Linked DNA regions of Homo sapiens: regions 1 and 3 are each linked to region 2. The links are contacts of gene promoters, found by promoter capture Hi-C in human tissues and cell types (Jung and others, 2019). All regions are on one chromosome and are shown on one strand. The core of a region is centred on a gene start or on the middle of the fragment in contact, and the rest is flanking DNA. Distances in the headings are between cores, read along the strand shown. Region 1 has its middle 47 kb from the start of SNX7-DT. Region 2 holds the start of SNX7 (sorting nexin 7). Region 3 overlaps SNX7 (sorting nexin 7).

The links. Contacts are between HindIII fragments. The study calls those that stand out against the background at their distance.
Region 1: a fragment that was not itself captured here is called in contact with the fragment with the promoter of SNX7 in region 2 in 1 of the 25 tissues and cell types used here (thymus).
Region 3: a fragment that was not itself captured here is called in contact with the fragment with the promoter of SNX7 in region 2 in 1 of the 25 tissues and cell types used here (aorta).

Annotation. Positions count from the first base shown.
Region 1 is chr1:98,612,687-98,615,386 of GRCh38, reverse strand. No RefSeq gene overlaps it. Among named protein-coding and RNA genes, the nearest start is that of SNX7-DT, 47 kb to the left of the region's middle. The HindIII fragment of the contact is 8,915 bases long and covers 1-2,700 here.
Region 2 is chr1:98,660,343-98,663,080 of GRCh38, reverse strand. SNX7 (sorting nexin 7) reads right to left here and starts at 1,360. Exons shown (of 9, transcript NM_015976.5): 1 at 1,170-1,360. The coding sequence starts at 1,349. SNX7-DT (SNX7 divergent transcript) reads left to right here and starts at 2,309. Exons shown (of 1, transcript NR_189290.1): 1 at 2,309-2,738. RefSeq lists silencers at 979-1,048, 1,279-1,398, 1,419-1,558. The HindIII fragment of the contact is 3,254 bases long and covers 1-2,451 here.
Region 3 is chr1:98,712,881-98,715,732 of GRCh38, reverse strand. All of the region lies in intron 7 of SNX7 (sorting nexin 7), which reads right to left. Among named protein-coding and RNA genes, the nearest start is that of SNX7, 53 kb to the right of the region's middle. The HindIII fragment of the contact is 4,775 bases long and covers 1-2,852 here.

The DNA.
Region 1 (2,700 bases), core at 21-2,520, 48 kb after region 2:
GCAGCTGTTTTGCCACTGGTTCTGGAAGAAAAAAAGCTAGCTGAAAAGCACTTGGTATAGTTTGATCTAAAAGTGAACACACTGGACAAATAAAATGAACAAATTTTATTCTCACACTAGCATTTGATTACTCTTTTCAGACCAATTTTTTTGTTCCTTCCACAGCTTCTTTTTTTTAATTTTATTATTATTATACTTTAAGTTTTAGGGTACATGTGCACAATGTGCAGGTTAGTTACATATGTATACATGTGACATGCTAGTGTGCTGGACCCACTAACTCGTCATCTAGCATTAGGTATATCTCCTAATGCTATCCCTCCCCCCTCCCCCCACCCCACAACAGGCCCCAGAGTGTGATGTTCCTCCTCCTGTGTCCATGTGTTCCCATTGTTCAATTCCCACCTATGAGTGATAATATGCGGTGTTTGGTTTTTTGTTCTTGTGATAGTTTACTGAGAATGATGATTTCCAATTTCATCCATGTCCCTACAAAGGACATTAACTCATCATTTTTTATGGCTGCATAGTATTCCATGGTGTATATGTTCCACATTTTCTTAATCCAGTCTATCGTTGTTGGACATTTGGGTTGGTTCCAAGTCTTTGCTATTGTGAATAGTGCCACAATAAACATATGTGTGCATGTGTCTTTAGAGCAGCATGATTTATAGTCCTTTAGGTATATACCCAGTAATGGGATGGCTGGGTCAAATGGTATTTCTAGTTCTAGATCCCTGAGGAATCACCACACTGACTTCCACAATGGTTGAACTAGTTTACAGTCCCACCAACAGTGTAAAAGTGTTCCTATTTCTCCATATCCTCTCCAGCACCTGTTGTTTCCTGACTTTTTAATGATTGCCATTCTAACTGGTGTGAGATGATATCTCATTGTGGTTTTGATTTGCATTTCTCTGATGGCCAGTGATGGTGAGCATTTTTTCATGTGTTTTTTGGCTGCATAAATGTCTTCTTTTGAGAAGTGTCTGTTCATGTCCTTCACCCACTTTTTGATGGGGTTGTTTGTTTTTTTCTTGTAAATTTGTTTGAGTTCATTGTAGATTCTGGATATTAGCCCTTTGTCAGATGAGTAGGTTGCGAAAATTTTCTCCCATTTTGTAGGTTGCCTGTTCACTCTGATGGTAGTTTCTTTTGCTGTGTAGAAGCTCTTGAGTTTTATTAGATCCCATTTGTCAATTTTGTCTTCTGTTGCCATTGCTTTTGGTGTTTTAGACATGAAGTCCTTGCCCATGCCTATGTCCTGAATGGTAATGCCTAGGTTTTCTTCTAGGGTTTTTATGGTTTTAGGTCTAACGTTTAAGTCTTTAATCCATCTTGAATTGATTTTTGTATAATGTGTAAAGAAGGGATCCAGTTTCAGCTTTCAGCATATGGCTAGCCTGTTTTCCCAGCACCATGTATTAAATAGGGAATCCTTTCCCCATTGCTTATTTTTCTCAGGTTTGTCAAAGATCAGATAGTTGTAGATATGTGGCATTATTTCTCAGGGCTCTGTTCTGTTCCATTGATCTATAACTCTGTTTTGGTACCAGTACCATGCTGTTTTGGTTACTGTAGCCTTGTAGTATAGTTTGAAGTAAGGTAGTGTGATGCCTCCAGCTTTGTTCTTTTGGCTTAGGATTGACTTGGTGATGCGGGCTGTTTTTTGGTTCCATGTGAACTTTAAAGTAGTTTTTTCCAATTCTGTGAAGAAAGTCATTGGTAGTTTGATGGGGATGGCATTGAATCTATAAATTACCTTGGGCAGTATGGCCATTTTCATGATATTGATTCTTCCTATCCATGAGCATGGAATGTTCTTCTATTTGTTTGTATCCTCTTTAATTTCATTGAGCAGTGGTTTGTAGTTCTCCTTGAAGAGGTCCTTCACATCCCTTGTAAGGTGGATTCCTAGGTATTTTATTCTCTTTGAAGCAATTGTGAATGGGAGTTCACTCATGATTTGGCTCTCTGTTTGTCTGTTATTGGTGTATAAGAATGCTTGTGATTTTTGCAAATTGATTTTGTATCCTGAGACTTTGCTGAATTTGCTTATCAGCTTAAGGAGATTTTGGGCTGAGATAATGGGGTTTTGTAGATATACAATCATGTCGTCTGCAAACAGGGACAATTTGACTTCCTCTTTTCCTAATTGAATACCCTTTATTTCCTTCTCCTGCCTAATTGCCCTGGCCAGAACAGACCAATTTTTAAAGTTTTTTTACATCATCTTCCAAATATGACAATTTCCATTGTGATTATTTTAAAAAACCTTTATGAAAAATGTTTTTGTGACATATTGTTACTTGATGCAATTAATAGGCATTCATTTATATTTTAAAAAGAAATTTTCTATAAATGTTTTCTTTATTAGTGTTCTAAAGAATCAATTTAGTCTACAAAAGCAGTGACTCATAATTTATGCCTGATTTTATTTGTCAGTACAGTTGACAAGTGAATAGCTTTTAAAAAGTAATTGATGTTAGTACTTTACGAATTGAAATACTGCAGACAGATCAAGTGAGAGAAACTGATGTGGCTTTTGCCTTTCATTAGAATCCATAAATGGAAGAAAGCAGAGTATAAGGATAGTACATACTCTGGCATACAATATATTTAATAATATCAAGGTCTTTTGAAAAATAATAGCAGTCTTTTAAACAGAATTAACTTTTGAATGTGGTATCACATTTTAAA
Region 2 (2,738 bases), core at 111-2,610:
TGTGGAATATAAAAAGGCAGAGTTTACAACTAAACATAAAATAATTCCATTGTTTTACTACTTAACAGAAAAGTCAAGAGCACAAAACTGTGATAGTCTGTTTAAATATTCGGAATACAAACCTGGGCCTATCATTCCATTTAAACCGAAGTAGAAATAAGTTTTATATACTCCTCTTTGGAGTCAGAGTATGCATGGTCACTTCCTAACTTTGGTTTGCTCTCCCAGAGTAAATGCGGTGGTTAAGTAGGTCGTTTGCTTTACCTAATATCTCCAGGTAACGTTAAAATGAACAGGCTTCTTAGTAATGAATACAGCGTTGTGATCTGAACTCAGGTCTTCTCTCAGCAGCAACTTGAGAAACTGGAGTGACATTCAACCTCCCTGCAAGAAAGGTATTTTTCTTTTCTAAAACCCTTTAAGAAATTACAAACACCAGTCTACACGTACCAAAAGTCTACCACTAGCCCCCACAAGTCAATTTCCCTCCAACAGTAAAATAAGCAAATAAGAGCCTTTGGTCCTAAATTTCCCGGGGGCAAGGAAAAACGAAAGCACTGGCTGTGGGTTGGGTGGCAGTAGCTGACCATCTGAAAAATCCTTAGCTCCTCAGCGGAGGAGCTTCCTGTTAGAAACAACCGTTTTCTCCTGTTCAGGGAGATTTCCTAGAACCTATTCCCACAAGACCCGAGACTCACCCAAGTCTCAAATCCACAAGCAACAACACTAAATTAAGAATAATTTCTCTAAACTTGGCTGCTCTCCCAGAGTTCAGGGCTGGCCTCGCCCGAAAAGCAGCTGGCGGGAGCGGTTTTGAGCCACCAGCCTCCCAGGTTCGGGAGCTGCCGCGAGGAAGATGTCTGTGTCAGAGAAGCAGAAAGGGAAAACAAATCACAACTTTGCAGACTCCACTAAGCCACAGCCCCGCCGAACGGAAGGTCAAAGTGCGGAGGAGGGAGCGGCTGCGGTTTGAGGCCCCGAGGCGACGCGGCCCCGGGTGCGGCCAGAGCTGGCAGGCGGGGTCCAGCAGCCCGGGGGACCTCACTCGTCCCCAGCTCAGAGCCACCGCCCCGGGAGGGCAAGCGCGCCAGAGGCAGCCGTCGGCGCAATGCTGGCAACGCCCGGAGTTGCCTTGGAAGTTTCCCGGGACTCGCCGCCGCCGCCCTCACCTTGCTGAACACCTCCAGGTCGTCCTCGTCCTCGTCCAGATCCAGCACCTCCGCCTGCAGCAGGGCGGAAGAGCCACTGCTGCCCGGAAAGGGGGCGCCGCCCCCCGGGCTCTCCCCGTTGGCGCCCCCGGCCGGGAGGCCCGAGGAGGGCGCCTGCGATGCCCGGCGCTCGCCCTCCATCCCGAGAGTGCGCGCCCAGCCGGCCGCCACCGCCGCCGCCAGCCCGGCTCCCCCGAGCGTGCCCATTGGCTCCCACGTCTCCTGCACCTCCCCGGCCGGCCCCGCTCCAGCCCCTCGCCCGCTGCGCAGACGCGGAACTGCCGGGACCAGCGCTGGCCCGGGCCGGGCGCATCCCCACCTGGCCTGGGGCGGGCTGGAGGGGCGGAACTGGGACTCTCGGACTCCGGCTACGTTGGAGAAAGGGTTGGCTGTACCCTGGAGAAGAGGAGAGACTCAAAGGTAGGAGGTGGGCGTCCTCGCATTGACCCAGTCGGGGGCCACCGAGTGACGGTTTCCGCAGTGGCGGGGTCTGGGAAGAAGCCACGAAGCGAACCGTCCACTTCGCGGGATCCACAGCGAGGCTGGAAGGCACCCGACCCAGCCTTGCCAAGAGAAAAAAAAAAAACAGCAATAACAATACTGTATTTCCTGTATTCAGTGGTTGCCTTTCTTCTTGGTTGTGATTTTCGAGCTAATGTAAAAATAAAGACATGAAAACTTCCCGTTTTGTTAATTGATTTTTGACCCAGTGACTGGCCTGTGCGGTCATTTCACTGTCGAGCCAGGAAAGCTGAGCTTTACAAACTATTTTCAGCCACTTTCAAATGCATCTTTACTCCTGGACGTCTTCCTGAAGTTAATGAGCAGAATGTTACCAAGACCCAAGGACAACTAGCAAGTCTGGAAAATTGCCACCGAGAAATAATCTTCAGTCCTTGCATTGCCAAGGCAAAGCTTTAATTATTTAACTGCTTATTATTCAAAAACAAAACTAAGTTCCAAAACTAATGGAAAATTTTGCCCACGTTGATATATTCTTTAATTTATCTTCAGGTTTTATTTACTTCCGTCAGCCCCACCTCTTTTCTGTAGGCCCATTTAAAAATTTTTAAATACATTAAGCTCTATGTAAGAATTCCTTATTTGGGGAAATAGAGAATATCTTTATTTCTGATTAGAGGCAAGGCCTTAATAATATATTATCTCCTAATCATTCAAATGTATTCCCATTGATTTCAGACGTGCACCCACCCTTCAGTCAGGTTGGTCACTGCCCCATGAGTATCCACATTTGTTTCTGTGCTTGATGATTTCTGTACTTTAAATGCCATCTCCTGCCCATCCTTCAGAAATTAAATATAGTCCCATCTCTTTCAGAAAGACTTTCTAAATGACAGTCTGTTCTCAATTTAGCATTTAATTTTATTCCATCTTGCAGATTGTATTTGTTTCATGTACAAGTTTTCCATTCCTTAGTAAATGATAACATTTTCAGGTTGAGGATCCTGATATGTATTAACCACAGTATCAGATGTACTCTCAAAATGCTCTCTGCTAATTTCTGTAAAT
Region 3 (2,852 bases), core at 281-2,780, 52 kb before region 2:
TACGAGAGTCAGAACGTTTTGTTGTATCAGAAGCAAAGAGGTGATCAAAATGATGTGAACATATCAAAAGGGCATAGAAGCCAGCTTGAAGATGGTCCCACTCATCAAATTTGGGTAACTCGTGCATCAAAACAAGTAATGATAATAAAACCCATGTCTTAAAATAAAAACAAATTCATACATGAATAAATTGAAAGTTAAAGTATGATAAGGCATGGGATCATCAGTCTCAAAGACGCTCCCCACAAAACACTTACTAATTACATTGGAAAAAGAGTGACTTTTATAGTGGAGAAGCTGGACGGACATTGCCTTAATCAGTCATCAAACGGTGCAGAATCATTAATGGGACAAATAAACATCATATACTACCTAAAAAGAATCAATGAAAGGATCACAGTAACACTTAAGTGACATTCCCGTCAAAGACTGATAATATAAATCTAAGCTTAAGGAAATATGAAACAAGTTAAAATAGGAGGCATGCTACAAAATAATCTTCAAATGTAGAATGGCCATGAAAGTTAAGGGAAGATGAAAGACTGTTCCAGACTGAAGGAGACATCTAACTAAATACTGTCAAAAAAACATTAGAGAACTGGTGAAACTTGAATGGGTCTGAGCATTTGATAATATAAATATATCAATAACTTATTGATATTGATGGTTGTACTATAGTTATATAGGAAAATATTCTTGTTTGTAAGAAACACACTATTCAAAGGTTATTAGATTTACAACTTATTCTCCAATGGTTCAAAAGAAATGCAGGTCTTTGAAGTGTACTTGCAAATTTTCTGTAAGTTTGTCACTTGGAAATAAATTTAAAAACATGTAACACATCAAATCACAACTCTTCCCCACTTGAAACCCTTCAGGGGCTCTCCATTGCAAACAGAAGAAAACTCAAGGCCTACACATTGTTCGTCCGCTCGCTTTCAGTCCTCATGCCATAGTGCTGCGCCTCTGTCCTTCATATTCTAGCTACTTGCAACCTAACAAACCTCCTGGAACATGTGAATTCATTCTCATTTCAGAGGATCATGGCTTTTCCTCCTTCTTCCAACACTGGTGCTCCAGAATTTGGATCAATGGCCCCTTATGATGATTCAGCTCTCTTCTCAAGGTCATCTCCTCAGAAAGGCCTTCTCTGATCACTCTAGATACTTCCCCTCCTGGTATTCTTTATCATGTTACCCTGTTTTATTCTCTTTATAGCACTAATCACAGTCTAAAATTATCATATTCATTTAATTTTTTTACTTATTTTCAGCATCCTTCCACTAGAGAATAAGCTCCTAGGGAGACGGGCTTTTTCAGTCTTCTTAAGGAGCCAAGAACTATTTGCTGATTGACTCTCTAGGACTCAATTTTCCCGTCCACAAAAATGGGAACAAATTACTACCTATCTCACAGGATTAGACATTGGCTGATATATGTGAATGCTTAGCATAGTGCCTGGCATACAACATGTACTAAATAGATGTTAAATATGCTTATAAAATGAAAACACTAGTTTGGGTCTAGAAATTCTCTGAAAGTTGAATAGCCATGTGACTGGGGCATTGACACCCCTCTAAATTGACTACTGACTAAGATTCACCAGAGAGAAAAGGCTTACTCTCCAAAGTCTACTAATTATACAACTATACCTCATTTTATTGTACTGTGCTTTTCTGTGCTTTGCAGATATTCCATTTTTTTTCTAACAAATTGAAGCTTTGTGACAACCCTGCACTGAGTAAGCCTACCAGCATCATTTTTCCAACATGTGCTTACTTCACGTGTCTGTGTCACATTTTGGTAATTCTTACAACACTTCAAACTTTTTCATTATTATCCTATCTGTGATGGCGATCTGTGATAAGCAGTCTTTGATGTTACCACTGTAATTTGGAAGAGGGGGCAGAATTGTGTCCATATAAAGTAGTGAATCTAATCCATAAATGTGTATGTTCTGACTGTATCACTGACCATTCTCCTGTCTCTGTTCCTCTCCTTCGTATTCCCTGAGAGACAATAATATTGAAATATGACCAATTAATAACCCTACAATGGCTTTTATGTGTTCAAGTGAAAGAAAGAATTGAGCATCTCTTACTTTAAATCAAAAGCTACAAATGATTAAACTTAGTGAGGAAGGCATTTCAAAAGCTGAGACTGGCTGCAAGCTAGGCCTCTTGCACAGAACAGTTAGACAAGTTCTGAATGCAAAGAAAAAGTTCTTGGAAGAAATAAAAATGCTATTCCAATAAGCACATGAATTATAAGAAAGCAAAAAAAAAGCCTTATTGCTGATATGGAGAAAGTTTTAGTGGTCTGAGTAGAAGATCAAACCAGCCATAACATTCCCTTAAGCCAAAGCCTAATCCAGAGCAATGTCCTAACTCTTCAATTTTATGAAGGCTAGGAGAAGTGAGGAAGCTGGAGAGGAAATGTTTGAAGCTAGCAGAGGTTGGTTCACTAGGTTTAAGGAAAGAAGCTGTCTCCGTAAGATAAAAATGCCAGATGAAGCAACAAATGCTGATGTACAAGTTATAACAAGTTATCCAGAAGATCTAACTATGATCATTGATAAGGATGGCTACACTACAAACAACAGATTTTCAATGTAGACAAGTTTTTTTTTTTTTTTTTTCCTGAGACAGAGTTTCGCTCTTGTTGCCCAGGCTGGACTGCAATGGCACGATCTCGGCTCACTGCAACCTCTGCCTCCTAGGTTTAAGCAATTCTCCTGCCTTAGCCTCCCGGGTAGCTGGCATTACAGGCATGTGCCACTATGTCTGGCTAATTTTCTATTTTTAGTAGAGACAGGGTTTCTCCATGTTGGTCAGGCTCATTTCGAACTCCCA